2 separate regions of the Homo sapiens genome follow, and region 2 is linked to region 1. Evidence: promoter capture Hi-C in human tissues and cell types (Jung and others, 2019). All regions are on one chromosome and are shown on one strand. Each heading gives the region's core, a stretch centred on a gene start or on the middle of the fragment in contact. The rest is flanking DNA. Distances are from core to core; before and after follow the strand shown. Region 1 holds the start of HIPK4 (homeodomain interacting protein kinase 4). Region 2 has its middle 44 kb from the start of NUMBL.

The links. Contacts are between HindIII fragments. The study calls those that stand out against the background at their distance.
Region 2: a fragment that was not itself captured here is called in contact with the fragment with the promoter of HIPK4 in region 1 in 2 of the 25 tissues and cell types used here (dorsolateral prefrontal cortex and liver).

Annotation. Positions count from the first base shown.
Region 1 is chr19:40,388,510-40,391,727 of GRCh38, forward strand. It overlaps HIPK4 (homeodomain interacting protein kinase 4), which reads right to left and starts at 1,672. Exons shown (of 4, transcript NM_144685.5): 1 at 929-1,672. The coding sequence starts at 1,393. RefSeq lists enhancers at 1,025-1,574, 1,575-2,124. The HindIII fragment of the contact is 19,093 bases long and covers 1-3,218 here.
Region 2 is chr19:40,645,131-40,648,348 of GRCh38, forward strand. No RefSeq gene overlaps it. Among named protein-coding and RNA genes, the nearest start is that of NUMBL, 44 kb to the right of the region's middle. RefSeq lists an enhancer at 2,354-3,218. The HindIII fragment of the contact is 9,795 bases long and covers 1-3,218 here.

The sequences.
Region 1 (3,218 bases), core at 422-2,921:
GTCCTGTCTGTCCCCTGCTGTGTTTGTGGAAGTCCCTGCTTCCCTGGGTCTCTGTCCTTCCACCTCTTGGGGCAGAATAATCCACCTTTTTCTGTCTCTGTGTCTCTGGCAAGCATTCATTTAGCACTGGCTCCATGACTGCAGTGCTGGGAGATGTCAGGGACACAGCGATGATTAAGTCAGCCCCAGCCTTGCCCTCAGGGTGCCCCTGGTTCAGAAGCATCCAGACAGTATCAAACTCAAAAGCAGACAGAGGACTGGGCATGGTGGCTCACACTTGTAATTCCAGCACTTTGTTGAGGCCAAGGTGGGCAGATTGCTTGAACTCAGGACTTTGAGACCAGCCTGGGCAACATGATGAAATCCTGTTTCTACCAAAAAACACAAAAATTGGCTGGGCGTGGTGGCTCACGCCTGTAATCCCAGCACTTTGGGAGGCTGAGGCAGGTGGATCACAAGGTCAGGAGTTTGAGACCAGCCTGGCCAACATGGCGAAACTCCATCTCTACTAAAAATACAAAAATTAGCCGGGCATGGGTGGCGGGCACCTGTATTCCCAGCTACTCAGGAGGCTGAGGCAGGAGAATCGCTTGAACCCGGGAGGCGGAGGCAGTGAACCAAGATCATGCCATCATCACCCCGTCTCTGATAAGTACAAAAAAAAAATTAGCTGGGCGTGGTGGCGCATCCCTGTAATCCCAGCAACTCGGGAGGCTGAGGCAGGATAATCACTTGAACCCAGGAGGCGGAGTTGCAGTGAGCTGAGATTGTGCCACTGCACTCAAGCCTGGGTAACAGAATGAAACTCCGTCTCAAAAATAATAATAATAATAATTTTAAAAAATTAAAAAAAAAATCTAGGGCTGGAAGAAGCTGGGAAAAAGACAAGGAACTAGGGACGCAGCCACCCTAGACGACCCCTACTCACCTTGACCCTGAAGGGGCAGCGGGTCTGGTCCACCAGCATGATGTTCTCAGGCTTGAGATCAGCGTGGATGATAGCCAGCTCCTTGAGCCGGGCCAGGGCTGTGAGCACCTGCAGGGTGACTGTACGGATGTGGCGGGCGGGGAGGGGCGCGAAGTTGTTCTCCTTCTGGAACTCGAAAAGGTTTTGCTCCAGCAGCTCAAAGACCAGGTAGAACTTGAGGGCGTCATGGAAGAACTCAAGGAAGCGGATGACGTGGGCCTCTTCAGGGTCTAGGCCTCGCATGCAGTGCAGCAGCTTCAGCTCGTTCTTGATGATGCGGTTGCGGTAGGCGTCATTCTTGAGGATCTTGATGGCCACCATCTCGCCCGTGCTCCGCCGCCAGCCCTTGGCTACCTCCCCGAAGGTCCCCTTGCCCAAGACCTCGATGATGTCGTAGCAGTCAGTCTCCGACTGGATGGTGGACATGGTGCCGCTGCTGCCAGACACCGCCCTGCCCAGGCCCCTGTACCACTGGCTCTGCCGCCCAGGCCTCCCGCCTGGCTGCTGACACAGCAGGCCCCCCAGTGGGGGAAAGAGAACCGCACTCGTGTCTCCTCCTATGAGGTTGGCCCCTGCTTCCCTGGCACCCCCAAACCCCCAGGCCACACTGTCAGTCTGCCAGGGGCTGCACCCCTCCCCAGAAACCCTCCTGGCTTGGGATGAGGGGCCCCAGGCCCCACCGAATGGGTTCCAGCGCTGTTGAGTGGCTCTGGTTCTGTTGTTGGAGACCTGAGCCCTGGCTGGAGTGGGGGTGGGGTACCAGGCTGGGCCCCCTCCCCCGCCCAGTGGCGGAATCTTGCAAAGACCAAACAGGTGAAGTGTTGACAGAGGGGGGTCTAATCGTGGGCCTTGGGCATACAGGAATGGGGATAAGGCAGGAGTGAGGAAAGGTGGGCTTCTTGAGCTTGGGAGATGTGATGTGTGTGTGTCTGTGTTCAGAAAACTCCTGTCCCAGTCTGTGGCTACTGTGGGGTGAGGTTGTAAAAGGCCCTGAATGCCAGGCTAAGGAGTTTGGATTCTGTTCTGAGGGCACTGGGGAGCCACAGAAGGGCTTTGAGCAGGGGAGGGCAGGGTCAGATATGAGTGTCAGAAAGTTACTGTATGAAAAGGGATAGGTTGGAGCGGGTAAGAGTGGAAGCCCCAAGCCAGGGAAAGAGTCCAGGACAGGGCACAGATGGGAGAGGTTGGGGAGGAGAGGGCGAGGCCAATGGATGAGACACTCAAAAGGCCAGGAGAAGCAGCCGTGAGACCGACGGTTTGAGGGAAAGGCGGGAGCTGTCTAAGAACGGGCCTAGGGCTCTGGGATGAAGGGGCAGTCCCCGAGAAATGGACATGGATAAGAAGCAGCTTGGGGGAGATGTTGAGGCCAAATTAGAAAATGTATTTATTTTTGGCTGGGTGCGGTGGGTCACGCCTGTAATCCCAGCACTTTGGGAGGCCAAGGAAGGCAGATCATAAGGTCAGGAGATCGAGACCATCCTGGCTAACACGGTGAAACTCTGTCTCTACTAAAAATACTAAAAATTAGCCAGGCATAGTGGAGGGCGCCTGTAGTCCCAGCTACTCGGGAGGCTAAGGCAGAAGAATAGCTTGAACCCGGGAGGTGGAGGTTGCAGTGAGCCGAGATTGCACCACTGCACTCCAGCCTGGGTGACAGAGCGAGACTCCATCTCAAAAAAAAAAAAAAAGTGTTCATTTTTATTTATCTTTTTAATTTTTTGTAGAAATGGGGTCTCACTATGTTGTCCAGGCTGGTCTCAAGTGATCCTCCTGGCCTCAAGTGATCCTCCTGCCTCAACCTTCCAAAGTGCTGGGATTGTAGACATGAGCCACCACTCCAGCCAGATTAGAATATTTAACAGCGGGCCGGGCTCGGTGGCTCATGCCTGTAATCCCAGCACTTTGGGAGGCTGAGGCAGGTGGATCACCTGAGGTCGGGAGTTCGAGACCAGCCTGACCAACATGGAGAAACCCCGTCTCTACTAAAAATACAAAATTAGCCGGGTGTGTTAGCACATGCCTGTAGTCCCAGCTACTCAAGAGGCTGAGGTCGGCAGGCTGAGGTATGAGAACTGCTTGAACGCGGGAGGTGGGGTTGCAGTGAGCCAAGATTGCGCCATTGCACTCCAGCCTGGGCAACAAGAGTGAAACTCCGTCTCAAAAAAAAAAAAAAAAGTAAAAGAAAATGTAACATCAAAACATTTAAACAAGGATGAAGTTCTTTAGAAGTCTTATCTGATCCTTACAACAT
Region 2 (3,218 bases), core at 416-2,915, 260 kb after region 1:
AATGGCTCGCGTTTATAATCCCAGCACTTTGGGAGGCCAAGGCAGGTGGATCACCTGAGGTCAGAAGTTCAAGATCAGCCTGGCCGACATGACAAAACACTGTCTCTACCAAAAATACAAGAATCAGGCTGGGTGCGGTGGCTCATGCCTGTAATCCCAGCAGCACTTTGGGAGGCTGAGGTGGGTGGATCACAAGGTCAGGAGTTCAAGACCAGCCTGGCCAAGATGGTGAAACCCCGTCTCTACTAAAAATACGAAAATTAGCCAGGTGTTGTGGTGGGCGCCTGTAAATTCCAGCAACTTGGGAGGCTGAGGCAGAGAATTGCTTGAACCTGGGAGGCAGAGGTTGCAGCGAGCCGAGATTGCGCCACTGCACTCCAACCTGGGGGACAGGGCGAGACTCCTTCTCAAAAAAAAAAAAAAGAAAAAGAAAAAGAAAAATTAGCCAAGCGTGGTGGCAGGCACCTGTAATCACAGCTACTCGGGAGCTGAGGCATGAGAATCGCTTGAACCCGGGAGACGGAGGTTGCAGTGAGCCGAGATCGTGCCACTGCACTCCAGCCTGGGGTATAGAGCGAGGCTCTATCTCAAAAAAAAAAAAAAAAAAAAAAAAAAAAAAAAAAGGAGAGTTTGGCGTTCATCAAGCAACATTTGGAAACTACAGAGAACTAGCAAGGCAAAGACGCCCCTCCCATCCCTAAGTCCTGTACCACTATGGTTGTTGACATTTTGATATATTTCCTTTCAGCCTTTTCTATTCTCTGTGAGCTTTTTAAATGCGTGTGTTGTGTGTGTGCACGTGTGTGTTTTACATAACTGTGTGAGCAAATTGTTTATACAGCCCTGTTTTTTCCCCTCTTAAAATGTAAGCTGTTCCCCTGTTAAAACATCTTTGGATAAACACAATCTCTAATGTTTGCACTATGTTTATTCAAAAGGGCAGCATTGCCAGAGGTTGAAGCTGTTTCCAATTTCCTCCCATTATAAATAATCCCCTCATGGACCTCCTTGTGTGTCCCAGAGGAGGGATTCTTGGGCCAAAGGGTGCGGACCCTTTGGCAGAGCTCATGGTCAAAAATCTCGGCAGAGTTTCAGCCTGACCCGAAGCTAAGATGACCTCATACGGTTAAAGTGAGATTGGACTGCTATTTATTTCCTGAACGTTTGATTCATGACTCAGGCTTGTCAGGGGATCTTTTTTTTTTTTTTCTTCTGTATGTGCTTGGTTGCAAGAAACAGAAATCCATTCACACTAGCTCACGTCAAAAGGGCAAGAGAATCGCTTGAACGCGGGAGGCGGAGGTTGCAGTGAGCCGAGATCGCGCCACTGCACTCCAGCCCGGGCGACAGTGCGAGACTCCGTCTCAATAACAAACAAACAAACAAAAAAAGGGCGGGGGGTGTTGTATCCTTCAGCAAGTAAAGCTCATATTCAGCTTGGACTAGCTGTCTGCGGAGCATGTTGTTGGGGTATATCTAGGCTATGTTGATTGTTGAAATACTGAATTATTTCCGTATTGGTTGGTAAATCATTCTGTCTCAAGTCGCTCCAATGACGTCCTCCACCAAGGCCACTCTAGCTGCCCTGGTCCCTCTCCCAGGACTTCCCAGACCTCTCCACAATGCAGGAAGTAAAGGGTCAATATCGGGCACAGAAGTGAACCATGCTGCTCGGTCAGTGCCCAAAGTATTGGTTGTGAAATTCATTTTTTCTTTTCTTTTTTTTTTTTTTGGAGACAAATTCTCACTATGGAACTCAAGCGATCCTCCTGCCTTGGCCTCCCAATGTACTGGGATTAAGGTGTGAGCCACTGCACCTGGACTGCTTGTAAAATATTTGATGATTCGCCTAGATGCAAGTACCAGAACAGCTGACTCAAATGGCTTAAATTGTAAGGGGAATCTGTGGCTGGAAAATCCACACTTGTGCTGGCTTCAGCCAAAGTTGACACAATGGCTCAGCCATGTCACCAAGGACTTTCTTTTCTTTCTTTCCTTCTTTCTTTCTTCTTTCTTTTTTTCTTTCTTTTCTCTCTCTTTCTTTCTCTCTCTCTTTTTTTTTTTTTTTTTTGACGTAGTCTGGTTCTGTTGCCCAGGCTGGAGTGCAGTGGCACAATCTTGGCTCACTGCGGCAACCTCCAATTCCCCGGAATTCAAGTGATTCTCCTGCCTTAGCCTCCCGAGTAGCTGGGACTATAGGTATGTGCCACCACGCCCAGCTAATTTTTGTATTTTTATTTTTTTATTTATTATTTTTTTAATCATTCTTGGGTGTTTCTCGCAGAGGGGGATTTGGCAGGGTCACAGGACAATAGTGGAGGGAAGGTCAGCAGATAAACAAGTGAACAAAGGTCTCTGGTTTTCCTAGGCAGAGGACCCTGCGGCCTTCCGCAGTGTTTGTGTCCCTGGGTACTTGAGATTAGGGAGTGGTGATGACTCTTAACGAGCATGCTGCCTTCAAGCATCTGTTTAACAAAGCACATCTTGCACCGCCCTTAATCCATTCAACCCTGAGTGGACACAGCACATGTTTCAGAGAGCACAGGGTTGGGGGCAAGGTCACAGATCAACAGGATCCCAAGGCAGAAGAATTTTTCTTAGTACAGAACAAAATGAAAAGTCTCCCATGTCTACCTCTTCCTACACAGACACAGCAACCATCCGATTTCTCAATCTTTTCTCCACCTTTCCCCATTTTCTATTCCACAAAACTGCCATTGTCATCATGGCCCGTTCTCAATGAGCTGTTGAGTACACCTCCCAGACGGGGTGGTGGCCGGGCAGAGGGGCTCCTCACTTCCCAGTAGGGGCGGCCGGGCAGAGGCGCCCCTCACCTCCCGGACGGGGCGGCTGGCCGGGCGGGGGGCCGACCCCCCCACCTCCCTCCCGGACGGGGCGGCTGGCCGGGCAGAGGGGCTCCTCACTTCCCAGTAGGGGCGGCCGGGCAGAGGCGCCCCTGACCTCCCGGACGGGGCGGCTGGCCGGGCGGGGGGCCGACCCCCCCACCTCCCTCCCGGACGGGGCGGCTGGCCGGGCAGAGGGGCTCCTCACTTCCCAGTAGGGGCGGCCGGGCAGAGGCGCCCCTCACCTCCCGGACGGGGCGGCTGGCCGGGTGGGGGGCTGACCCCCCCACCTCCCTCCCGGACGGGGCGGCTGGCCGGGCGGGGGGCTGACCCCCCCACCTCCCTCCCGGACGGGGCGGCTGGCCGGGTGGGGGG